Linked DNA regions of Homo sapiens: all the other regions are linked to region 2. The links are contacts of gene promoters, found by promoter capture Hi-C in blood cells and fetal thymus (Javierre and others, 2016). All regions are on one chromosome and are shown on one strand. The core of a region is centred on a gene start or on the middle of the fragment in contact, and the rest is flanking DNA. Distances in the headings are between cores, read along the strand shown.

The links. Contacts are between HindIII fragments. The CHiCAGO score rates a contact against its expected background, and 5 or more counts as called.
Region 1: a contact is called between a fragment that was not itself captured here and the fragment with the promoter of ALDH5A1 in region 2, in 1 of 17 cell types (erythroblasts). The highest score is 5.6, in erythroblasts.
Region 3: a contact is called between a fragment that was not itself captured here and the fragment with the promoter of ALDH5A1 in region 2, in 1 of 17 cell types (fetal thymus). The highest score is 5.5, in fetal thymus.

Annotation. Positions count from the first base shown.
Region 1 is chr6:20,466,365-20,470,553 of GRCh38, forward strand. The region is part of intron 1 of E2F3 (E2F transcription factor 3); the gene reads left to right. Among named protein-coding and RNA genes, the nearest start is that of E2F3-IT1, 31 kb to the left of the region's middle. RefSeq lists an enhancer at 558-1,199. The HindIII fragment of the contact is 579 bases long and covers 2,199-2,777 here.
Region 2 is chr6:24,492,009-24,496,353 of GRCh38, forward strand. It overlaps ALDH5A1 (aldehyde dehydrogenase 5 family member A1), which reads left to right and starts at 2,961. Exons shown (of 10, transcript NM_001080.3): 1 at 2,961-3,342. The coding sequence starts at 2,989. It also overlaps a transcript of GPLD1 not described here. RefSeq lists a silencer at 2,967-3,356. The HindIII fragment of the contact is 3,166 bases long and covers 1,970-4,345 here.
Region 3 is chr6:20,562,017-20,566,216 of GRCh38, forward strand. The region is part of intron 4 of CDKAL1 (CDKAL1 threonylcarbamoyladenosine tRNA methylthiotransferase); the gene reads left to right. Among named protein-coding and RNA genes, the nearest start is that of CDKAL1, 30 kb to the left of the region's middle. The HindIII fragment of the contact is 494 bases long and covers 1,404-1,897 here.

The sequences.
Region 1 (4,189 bases), core at 1,238-3,737, 4.0 Mb before region 2:
AGCCTCCCAAAATGCTGGCATTACAGGTGTGAGCCACCATGGCCAGCAATTATTTTTTGATGTTTTGATTATGGCCATTCTTGCAGAAGTAAGGTAGTATTGCATGGTGGTTTTGATTTGCATTTCCCTGATCATTAGTGATGCTGAGCACTTTTTCATGTTCTTAGCTGACTTTTTGGTGGGATTTTTTGGGTTTTTTCTTGCTAATTTGTTTTATTCATCCCATTTCTTAATAGCCATCTAAAGATTTCCACCATACTGGGAAAAGTCCCATGACTCTTCTCTTTGTTTTTCCTCTGTTTCATCCCTATCGGTGTGTTCTTTTTTTTTTTTTTTGAGACGGAGTCTGGCTCTGTCGCCCAGGCTCGAGTGCAGTGGCGCAATCTCTGCTCACTGCAATCTCCGCCTGCCGGGTTCAAGCAGTTCTCTGCCTCAGCCTCCCAAGTAGCTGGGATTTCAGCTGCCTGCCACCACGCCCAGCCAATTTTTGTATTTTTGGTAGAGATGGGGTTTCACCGTCTTGGCCAGGCTGGTCTTGAGCTCCTGACCTCGTGACCCACCTGCCTTGGCCTCCCAAAGTGCTGGGATTACAGGTGTGAACAACCGCGCCCGGCCCAGTGTGTTCTTATTCACCTTATTTCTTAACAACCATAAAAAATTTCCACCTTCCTGTGAGGAGTCCTGTGACTCTTCCCCCCTACCCTTCATCATTCTCTTGTTAATTAACCTAATGTTTGTATTAGCATCTGTAAGACTCATGAGGGGAAACTGAGCAAGTACATCTCATAAGGCTTCTTGAACTATCTCTCGATTTTGTGGCAACAAGGTTAAATGGGGCATCCACATTAAAGGGGCGCCCCTAATCGCATCATTTACCATGACTTGGGTAGCAAGGCATATTCAGTGCTTGAATAATCTGGTGGTCATAAACCCAGGCCCCACATGGCATGAATACAAAGTGTATCAGCTGTTTCAGCTTGACGTTTATAGGTGGAGTCAGGCAGTCCCCCTTCTTCCAACATTCAAAACCAAAGACACTGCTCCTAAATTACTCTCACAGTGCATTTTAGTAAAGCCTCCTCAGGAAGCTGATGATACCAATCTAAAAAATGAAACAATTCCTTCACACTATACCCTCTGCTTTCAATGGCTTCTTGATTTTGCCCTTTCCTGACACTGCCTTCTTGGTGCCCAAAGTCCTTAGGGGTGCTTTCTGATGTCGCTGCATAATTTTTCCCTTGTGGGAGCGAGGTTCTGTGAGTCTACTGGCTGAAGCATAGATTGACTGAAATCTGAACTTGGTCTGGCATCGAGGTTTGGCCCAGCACTTTCTTTTTACTTTCATTCTAGCTATTACAGATAACAATAACCAAAGGGTTGCATATTTTGTTTTTTTCTTATTAGTTCGCATTTCTTCATGCATTCAGCAAACCACCTTCCAGGGAGTTAGATTGATCCACCTCTAAATTCCATTGGTAACTTTTACCTTTAGTGACTGATGCCACTCCATACCATGGGTATGGAGCTGCCACTCCATACCATGGGTGACCACATGGGCACCCAGGAATCAAAGGTTTCTCACCCCCCAACCCCTTTATCTGTTTTCTTCCCAAACATGAGCTAGGGATGTTCTAGCAGTCCCGATTCTGACACCAATTCTGAAAATGCTGAGGAATGAACAAACTCGGTTTCTCCCACTATTTTCGCATATTACAGTTGTGACACCAGATGTGTGGGGGGTTTCCCCAGGCATCAAGCAAGCAATTCATTCTGCAGCGGACACTAGCTGGGCGTCCTCCAATTCAATTCTGACACCATCTACCCAGAGAAGTGTCACATCACACAGATTGAGGGTTCAGTCTCACAAGACCACCCCCAACTTCTGATGCCAGTTGCAAGCCCCAGGTTGTTTTACCTGTGCCTCTGGCCAACCTGCTGTAAATCGGGGTTCCCGCGGCCCATTCCTCAGATTCAGTTAATTTGCTAGAGCAGCTCACAGAACTCAGGAAACATTGAGGTTTACTGGTTTATTATAAACGATATCACAGAGGATGCAGATGAAGAGGTGCATAGGGCAAGGCATGTGAGAAGGAGCACGCAGCTTCCATGACCTCCTTGCATGCGTCACCCTCCAGGAACCTCCTTGTGTTCAGCTACCTGGAAGCTCTCCGTACCCTGTCCTCTTGGGTTTTTTGGGAAGCTTCATTATGTTGGCATGATTGATTAAATCACTGGCCATTGGGGATCAACTTAACCTTCAGCCCCTCTCCTCTCCTTGGAGGTTTAGAGATGGGTCTGAAAGTTCTGACCCTCTGATCCTGCCTTGGTTTTTCCAGTGACCATTGTCCATCCTGAAGCCACCTAAGGGCAGCCGGCCTTCATTCAAATCATCAGCACACAAAAAGATACTTCATCTTCTATAGTAAGTGGGCCTACCTTACACCAAGACTGATAAAGTGAGGGGTTTTCTAAACATAGGAGAGAAAGTTCAGGTGCTGGGCACTCAAATCAAGTGACAGATGTTCACCTCGGGCATCAGCACAGTGTATGCAGTGAAGGAAAACTGCAGAATGACAGCCATGCAGCAGACCTGGAGAACCCCTAGCTAGTCTCAGGTCTGGATATCAGGAGGCCAGAGAGCTTCAGGCAGGAGGAAAAGTGGAGATTTGGTAGAATATCTGATATGATGGAGAGTTGGAAAAAATTTGAGGATTTGGTGAGGGCAAATGGTGCCAACGAGCTAGAAAGACAATTGGAAACTCCAAAGAAAACAAACAAGCTTTACAAGAAAGGATATATAGTCTCAGTATATTATTTGATACTGCAGTGAATACTGTTTATACAGTCATGATGTATAGCACTGGTTTTTTATTTAACCAAAACTAATTATGTAACTATTGGGGGGAAATGGAAGAAGTGAGATGGGTATCGTATCATTGAAGGATGTCAGTACATTAGAACTAAAATGGCTAAACCAGAAATAGCTGTGTGAGCATATCACTTAGAGATACAGAGGTGACCACCAGGAGAAATAGTAAAGGTGGTTCCCCCAGCAAGGTAGCCATTATAGGCTCTCTGAGCTAGTGGGTTTTGAAAAACCATGTGCATCTATTTGTTTTTTAATTGTCTTAAATTATTCTTAAAAACAAAATAAGTTTCTATAGGAGGGACCGCAGTCACCAGTTCATAGGTTAAATGGCTTTTATTCCAAAAGTTCTAAGTCAGTGAGATTGCTTTTCCTTTAGAAACATTCATATATATGTGGTTAGATCCCCAAACTAGTCCACAAATACAGGTTATAGTGAAATTAAAATATCCTAGTTTAGAAATCAAAAGAAGAAAAATGACCAACTTTGGAGTCCATTCTAGTAATCCAAGTGAGAAAGGATGGGGATACGGTTGGAGTTTTCTGCACACCTGTTCAGTTCACCAGTTATTCTTCTCTGAGATAGTCTGGTTTGTGATTAGGCTTCTCACCCAGCGGCTCACAGAGGATGCTACTCTCATTAGATTCTGCACTTACCTCTCACTGTAAAAAGCTGGAGAAGACTTTGGAGCCCTTCATCTTAGGTAACCTCGTCAATGACAGGTTGACACTAGGAGTGCATTTAGCTTGGCATGAAAGGGACCATAAGCTGTCCCCCTTCCTCATCATTCTGTACTCAAAGCCCCTCACTACTCACAAGCACCTCCGAACCAGGACTTTTCAAAATCTCTGCTTCTGTTCTTATTTGGACAGCCCATTCAACTCCTCTGACTTCACTCCCTTATCTGCATAACACAGCTCAAGAGCTGTCACCTCTTAACAATCTCTCCAGACCTCTACCCACTTCTCCATGCACCCCTCTTCATGCCCTCCTGGACCCACCCTGGGCTCACTGCAGTATTCATTCATAATAAATTTCCCATTGTTTCCCATTGTTTGCTTGCCTGTATACTTGTTGATAGCAGGGACCACCATGTTGCCTTTATAATCATATGCCCATGCAGGGCTTGGTACATAGCAGGCACTCAATAAATATTTGAATGGATTCAAAAATGATGAGCCAGATTGAGTTAATACATAGTTACAGCTGAAAACTAACTTTTCTTAAAATCCTCATGCCCTGACCCACTAACCTAATGGCCAGAGTCCAAGTGAGGTTCAGCTGTGGTCTGCTATGAAGCTGGAAATTCCCTCCTTTGGGTT
Region 2 (4,345 bases), core at 1,711-4,210:
TTTCTTTCTGCCCCACACCCCCCTTTCCTAATATAGGTGGCTTTGTTATAAACAAGACAGCATGATTCTACCATTTAGAACTCTTCTGGAAATAGAGACCCAAGGTGAAAAGTAAACATACAGTTACATTAAGGAGTGAGTAGGGAGAATACAGGTTTGAAAGCCAGAGGGTCTCAAGCTTTATGTGGGCCAGTCTAGAAAATGGGGGAGAAGAGGCTGGGCACAGTGTCTCATGCCTGTAATCCCAGCACTTTGGGAGGCCGAGGTGGGCAGATCACCTGAGGTCAGGAGTTCAAGACCAGCCTGGCCAACATGGTGAAACCCCATCTCTACTAAACAATACAAAAATTAGCCAGGCATGGTGGCGCGCACCTGTACTCCCAGCTACTCTGGAGGCTGAGGCAGGAGAATCACTTGAACCCAGGAGGCAGACGTTGCAATGAGCTGAGATCGTGCCATTGCACTCCAGCCTGGGCGACAGAGTAAGACCCTGACTCAAAAAAAAAAAAAAAAAAAAAAGTGAAAGAAAAAAAAGAAAAAGAAAATGGGGGAGAGGATGAATAAGGGTGGGAACTGGGGAGTGGAGGTTCCCAGGACAAGGGCAGCCAAAGGAGAAAGGAGGGAAGAGGTCCCTCTCACCTGATGGTCTTGTCCTTGTAGGCCCTGGTAAGGACAGACACCCAGCCAGGCGCTAGGGGGCATCAGGACAGGCTGGAAGTAAGACAGGAGCCAGGAGGAAATTGTTTACACTCTGAATGGGGGCTTGAAGAGGGGCACAAAACTGAGGGAAAAGGGGAGGGCCACATTGTGAACTTTCTAAGCTCCAGGCGCTTTTGCCTTTGTGAAGTACTTCCTGTCACAAAAATAAGTAAACAATAAATAGAAATCACATTTTACATCTGCATTGGTGTAAGATTAACATATTAATATGCCACCTAAAACTTCTTTTCTTCAGATTTTAGAATAAATTAAACATTTGTGAGTGCTCCTAAAAGTTTTATGGGCCCTTGGCATCGTACCTACTGTGCGTAATGGATAAGTCATCTGGGAAAGGGAGTGGGTACCGTTTGAAATAGAACCTTAAAAAGGTAAGTGGGCTAGGGTAATTTTTGAACAAGAGAGGCAGCCACAATTAACTTGGCTTTTCTGGGCCTCAGTTGATTGAGGCCTCAATTGAATGATTTCCCCAGGCCAGTAGAAATGAGCCCTGTAATCCCAGCACTTTGGGAGGCCAAGGAGGGCGGATAACTTGAGGTCAGGCATTCAAGACCAGCCTGGCCAACACGGTGAAAACCTGTCTCTACTAAAAATACAAAAATTAGCTGGGCTTGGTGGCACACACCTGTAGCCCCATCTACTCGGGAGGCTGAGGCAGGAGAATCGCTTGAACCCGGGAGGCGGAAGTTGCAGGGAGCTGAAATCGCACCACTGCACTCCACCCTGGGTGACAGAATGAGTCTGTCGGTCTCACAAGAACAAAACAAACAAAAAACAAAAACCACCACCAAAAACAAAACAAAACAAAAACAAAAACTCCCTCCGCAGGCAGGAGATGTAAACACGCCAGCTCCCCAGCCCCACCTGTGATACCTACTGGCCCACATCCCTATTAGGACTCCCTGGTTCTCCCCAGTTCCTGCAATAAAATACAGAGCAAAATAGTGTGAAATTGATTAAACTCTACTGTTATCACTTCTGCCATATGTGACTGGCTCAAAACTCAATGGATCTGACTCAGCAAAAGACAAAGTCAAAATTTAAAGTTACTGCCTCGGCATTTTGCAAATGTCCTAGAAAAAAATTCAACGTCCTAGAAAAAGGTGAAAGCTAGCAAGATACTCTCAACGCTGTAGGAGTTGAGAAAGGGAGATATGTAACCTAAAATCAATGCATAGGGCTGGGCTTCATTTGCACCCACAAATTCCCAGCATACGCCTGCTATTTTTATTTTTATCCTCATTAGGTTTTAAGCTTCCCTGCTGCTTTCAGAGTCTTAAGCCCAAGTCTAATTTTTTAACGGATGAAGAATGCTGTTTAAAGGTGCTCAAATACCTTGGTTGGATAGTATGCTCAATCCTTATACCTTGGTTGATTCAATTTTGACAAATGCTTCCATTTACTAGTTGGTGACCCAACTTTAATCTTACTAGTGGCTTGACTAGGGTAGCTAGTATGACTTTGAACGCTATATTGAATTTAATGTGGCAACTGTAATGAGCATTTTACGTTATCTCACAACAAAATGGGGTAGATATGGTTCTATTTTATAAGTGACTGGACTAAGGTTAACCTGTCGGTCACACAGCTTGTCGGCAACAGACTTGAGTTTGGATCCTAGTCTGTTTATTTCCAAAGCGCTGTTATTTATCGGGAGCAACCCTAGGAGAATGCCTAGACACACACCCAAAAAAGCAGCCAGGCAGCAGAACGCGGGGTCACACTTCGACCCCTCAGAGAACGATCGCTCCCAATCAATACTACGTGCTCAGGAGCTACAACTGAAGAAGCGTGATCACGGCCTTGGCATTTAGGGCAGGCACCAGCGCATCTATGGACCGCGCACAAATTCCGGGGATGCCGAATTTGGGGGATGCTAAGGGGAGAGAGTGGGTCTCTAGCAGCGATTGGGGGCTCAGGAGCAGTTAGTGACAAATGAGCACCCGAAAAGTGAAAAGGTGACAGCAGTCCGCAGGTGCATCTACTGGCGAGCCTTCTCCATCCCCGAACCCAACCCTCCCCCGGGAGAAGGTCGCGCCAGGAGAGAAGCCGCGCGGCGCTTAGGGCAAGGTGCAGAGGGCGGCGCGGCGGTGCAGCGAGAAAGACGCGGAGAGAGGGCGCTGCTCTGTGGCTCTGCAACCTTCCGCCAGCTCCCACGCTTTCCCCGCGCGTCCCCGGCGCCTCCTCGCTCCTCTTGCTTCCCCGCGACCCCTGCGTTCCCGTGCGCGCGCGCCCGCTTGCCTGTTTCCTGTCGCCGTCGTTGCCCGGGCCATGGCGACCTGCATTTGGCTGCGGAGCTGTGGGGCCCGGCGCCTCGGGTCGACGTTTCCAGGCTGCCGCCTCCGCCCCCGCGCCGGCGGCCTGGTCCCTGCCTCCGGGCCTGCGCCCGGCCCGGCCCAGCTCCGCTGCTACGCTGGGCGCCTGGCGGGCCTCTCTGCGGCGCTGCTGCGCACCGACAGCTTCGTGGGCGGCCGCTGGCTCCCGGCCGCCGCCACCTTCCCCGTGCAAGACCCGGCCAGCGGCGCCGCTCTGGGCATGGTAGCCGACTGCGGGGTGCGAGAGGCCCGCGCCGCCGTGCGCGCTGCCTACGAGGCTTTCTGCCGCTGGAGGGAGGTCTCCGCCAAGGTGAGAGAGCCCGGATGCAGGGGGCCAGAGCTGGCCGGGGACACGGCGGGGAGCAGAGGGGGCTTTACCCCAAAGTGACACCAGCCGCGTCGCCTCCCTCCTGTGCTCAGTTCCCCAGGGTATACAAAGTGGAAAGTCAGAGCAACAAGGGAGACGACCGACAAATAAGTTTGGAGCTTCCACTTTGAGCCGGGCACTAGGGACACGACCCCTGCCCTCAAGCCTCATCAAGTTATGCACTGCCCAGTAGGGGAGGCAGAACGTGAGCGCCTAATACAAGCGAGCTGCTTGTTATGGTCAACAAGCCTAACCGTGGAGGGGCGGGGAGAAAGGGGAGGGGTGTCAGGGAAGTGAGAGCACGTGTGGCCCTTCAGAGTAGCTGAAATATCTCCGCAGCTGCAGGGAGCCCACGCAGGAGGCTGCTTCAGCGGCCCTTGAGAAGGCTGGTAGTGAGGGCCCCTGGCCAGAATCATGGGATCGGAAACGGAGAGAACTGTAGAAAGATTTGGGTTTTGTGCAGGGGAAGAGAGAAATCCAGGAGCGTTCTCCAGGTTTTCACCCTAAATGGATAAATGCTGCTATTGGCCATTGCATAGAGAACACTGGAGAATTGGGAGTAAGGGGTGGAGGGCCATTAAATGGGAAGAATAGAGTAAGAAGAAAACTAAGAAAGTAGTTTCTTCCTTCTAATATTATATTATTAAACCTGGAGTCAACGCAGTGAAATTTTTTACCGTGTCCTTCAAAGCTCTCCCTCTGAAGGAATGCATCCAGCGATCCCTACGAGTACAAGAGAGTCTTAGCACTCATTCATCCATCAGCTGTTTACTGAGCACCTGCTGTATGCCCTGCACTGTTGGAGGTGCTTGGGATACCTCAGTTAAACGAAAGAAGGATTCTGCCCTTATGGAGCTCACATGGGGTGGAAGGGGAGCAGAAGAGAGATCAGAACTCTAAACAACAAACATAATATCTAAGCAAATAAGTATGTGAGAGATGCTGA
Region 3 (4,200 bases), core at 401-2,900, 3.9 Mb before region 2:
TTGGAAGCAGTAATTGCTTTCAATTTAATGGGATTGGATTCAGTATTAGAAATTTTGATGTTCCTTCAAACTTAATACAGTATGGTTATATATATTTCCATTTATTTGTGTGTGTTCCTGTGCCCTCGCAGAGAGATTATCTTGGAGTATTACTTGTATTCACTTGAGTTATTTGCAACGGTTGGTAAAGAGGCATATTGTAAGGGTGGGAATGAGAGTGGCATTCTCTTTGTTTTTTTTCTTTTCTACCCATGGAATAATGAAGAGAGAAATAATAAGGGCCTTCAAAATGGGATTTCCATCCACTCAGAAATAAGGAAAGGAAATTTAGAGTCTCTGGAGAAGATCTGGAATGCTATTTACTCTTGAGGGTAGACAGCATCCAGCCCTACTAAAGATGAAAAAAGGAGAGCCTGGGGATGAAATTAAATCCATCAAAAAATTCACTGTTGGTCAGGCCTGGTGGCTCACGCCTGTAATCCCAGGCTGAGGTGGGCGGATCACTTGAGGTTAGGAGTTCCAGAAGAGCCTGACCAACATGGTGAAACCTCGTCCCTACTGAAAATACAAAAAAAATTAATCGGCTATGGTGGTGGGCGCCTGTAATCCCAGCTACTCGGGAGGCTGAGGCAGAAGAATTGCTTTGACCTGGAAGGTGGAGGCTGCAGTGAGCCAAGATCATGCCACTACACTCCAGCCTGGGCAATAGAGTGAGACTCCATCTTAAAAAAAAAAAAAAATTCATTGTTAGCATGTTATTTCAATCTTTCCCGGCAAATCATACTTAGAGACAGCTAAGTTTATCAATTCTCATGTCCTATACGGTGCTTTTTCTTGAATATACGGTAGACAAGAGGTAAGGCCTAATGGGTGAAGTAACTACATTTCTGAGTTAGTGTCTAATTGTTTTTGATCACCTAGTTCCATTTGACAGAAGATGTAGTGCTTATGGCTCATCCCATTGACTCTTTCTCTGCTTTCACTCCTTCAGCAGTGTTTTCAGTAGCCTTTTTGGTGATCTTATTGACTTGTCTTTTTTCTGATGTTCTTTTTAATTGAATTGCTATATGATATAAGATGGAATGATTGTGTTTTAACCATGATCTTCAAGTCTGCTGTGTAAAGAACTAATGATTGCAGTTTGAGTAAAATTCTTAGTAACAAGTGAATCAAAGATAAAGATAGATCATTGAGAATATTTTTTTTCTCTCCATGAGGAAGTTCATTATTAGCTAGCTTACAAAAATGAAGGAATTGTGAGAGTGTTCTGGAATAAATGTTATGGCTTAATAAAACTATTCAGAAAATCACTGAACAATACAAAAGTGGAAGACATTGAAAATGGTATATGGACACATCTAAGATCAAAATTAAGCCAGAGAAGCTTTAGGGAGAGTATTTGAAGCTTATCATTTCCATTTGTAACGGCTTTTTATATTGTGGTGTAAAATCATGTGCAAGCCATAAACAAGGGCTTTTAAAAATATTTTTGTTAATTTTTTTTTAGTTTTATAGAGATGGTGTCTCACTGTGTTGCCCAGTCTGGTCTTGAACTCCTGACCTCAACTGATCCTCCCATCTCAAATTCCCTAGTCACTGGGATTACAGGCATGAGCCACCACACCTAGCCAACGAGGGCTTTTTTTTTTTCTCATTAACATAGAGATATGAAGAATACTATATTGGATTAAAAGTTTTTGCATTTGTGAAGTGTAAGCAGCTGTGTGAATGTAGTCAATGTGTATTCTTCATTTAATAAACATAAGTATCTTTTCCTTTCCAAATTATACAAAAAATACTAAAAGCAATCAAACGATTTTTACAGAATCTTAACTAATATAAAAATTTGTTCATTGCTTATAATACAGAATAATTATATAACTTGGCTCATTATCTAAGCTTAATGAATTAATGTTGGAATGTAAAAACGAGCAATTTTAAGCCAGCGATGGCTCAATCATTTTTAACTGAGGGATTTTGGGATCAATTACTAAAATGTTCTGAGCCTCAGTGTCTTTAAAATGTAATGATGCTCTATTAATCTCATGAAATTGAAGTGAAAACAAATGTGAGGTAATATGTTTTTGGAAATATTTATAAGTTTAAAAATAGCCTGCTTGGTACTTGTGCCTGTAATGCTAGCTACTCAGGAGGCTGAGACAGGTGAATTACCTGAGGCCAGGAATTTGAGTCTGTCCTGTGCAACATAGCAAGACCCCATCTCCAAAAAAGCTAATATATTTATAAAGCTTAAATGTTATAAAATGATAAACTGATGGTTTTTGAATTCTTTGCTCTACTCACCTTTCATCTGTTAAAGATGTTTTTGTACAATTTAGCTCAGTTCCTAAATATACCAAAAGATGGCACTGTTTACCTATGTTTAATATTTTAATTTGCATTTTTTGATGAAAAAGTGTGTTGAATGTTTTATCTACAAATGTTTTAAATTGAGGTTATTTTTTTACATTTAATTTTCTGTTTTGTAAATGGATCTTTAATTCATGTAAAGTTTACTAGGACCAGGTTTCATTTTTATTTTGAAATGGTTTGGAAATTCAGATATTTAACAATCATTTTGTAGATATAAACTCCTGTGTGATCCATTGTAATTAATGATAAAACCTTGTATTAATGTGACAGCTAATGTTTCATGGAAAACCTAGTTGCTTTTGTATAACAAAAACCATTAAATTTTTTAAGCCTCTGAAAACAGTCCAGTGATTAAAACATGACAGCCACAAATAAATTATTTATGTGGCTTTTAGGTCACACTGCCCAGGTTTATTCATTTTAGAAAGTTATTTTATCTTAAAAGTACCTTTGAAAATGTAGCAAAACCTTTCATTGCTTGAATTTCCTACTCACAGTTGTGTGATGAGAGGAGAATCTAGGTCCAGGTCCTGCGAAGAGCTTCTCTGGGTGAGAAATGCAAAAATTAGATAATATGAATTTGACTTGAAGTGAGGGTTATTTATATAGCAGGATGTGGTGAATACACTTCCCATACAGTTAGACGGAAACCTCCTGATTGTTCATTTATACAGCCTATTACATCCAATGTAGTTTATGACCTAGAAAGAGAATACAAGTAGGATATTTTTTTATCCCATCAAAGCTATCTATATATATATATATTTTTAAATGAACAGCATTTGTCAGTGATTTTTACAGGGGTGAAAAAGCACAAGACAGTTCCATTACTATTATAAAATGTTTTACTTTTGTTGTGGGGGTAAGTTTAGAAGTCCAAGATATAATAATTTCAGATGTGCTTCTACTGTTTCCTTTACTTAAAAGTAGGGACTATTTTGAGGCAATATAATTTGTATGTTTCAGTTTTTATTTCTCTCTGAAAATCACTTTTTAGGGTACCATGCCTTGGAAAGAAAGTTTACATTTTTTTCCGTTAAAAACCCATCCTCCTAACTCTGAAATGACTGTCTCAGTTACTAAATGTATATAGCTTGGGGGAAGTGAAGGCACAGTTGGCAGTTAGAGGTTTGTTTTTATGTTCATGGGAGTATATGTGCTTATATTTAAATGTTCACTCTTCTAGCAGGGTTTGTTGATGTTAGTAATATGCTACATATGCGATTTGTCTGAATTGTTTAAAAATGCATAATTACAGGAGGATTTGATTATTCAGCAACAGTTCCAGTAGCTAAAGACTATCATATAGATATTTTCTTCCAGTATTTGACAGTGGTTCTGTGAGCTATGAGTAGCATAAAAAATAAAAAGAAGATACTGTGACTCTTTAATACCCTAGAGGCCGTAGTCTTAGGATATTCTTACTGTAGAGATGAAAAAACAGGGCTTCATTAACAAACTGAACTGCTATTTCACCTCTTTTAGTAGATGTGTAATTCTGTGGGTTTGGTAAATAACAAAGGCTTTTTTCCTAAATGATTTAATGCTTTCAGATTTTTGTGGGAAAATTAGAAAAAGCAAAAATGCACTCAGTGATTTTTTTTTTAAACCCCTTTGTTTCTGGACAAATGGACAAAGATAGTTAAGTGTCCCAAAAATGGTTTTAACAGGCTTCCCTCTCCAACCCCATACATACCCTGGCTGTCCATAATTCCAATTTTGGGTAGGTAGTAAAATGTGATATTAGACTACGAGTATTTTCCCTCCAAATAATACTTGTGATTAAAAGAAATGCAATCAAATAGCATTATATATTCGTTATGAAAG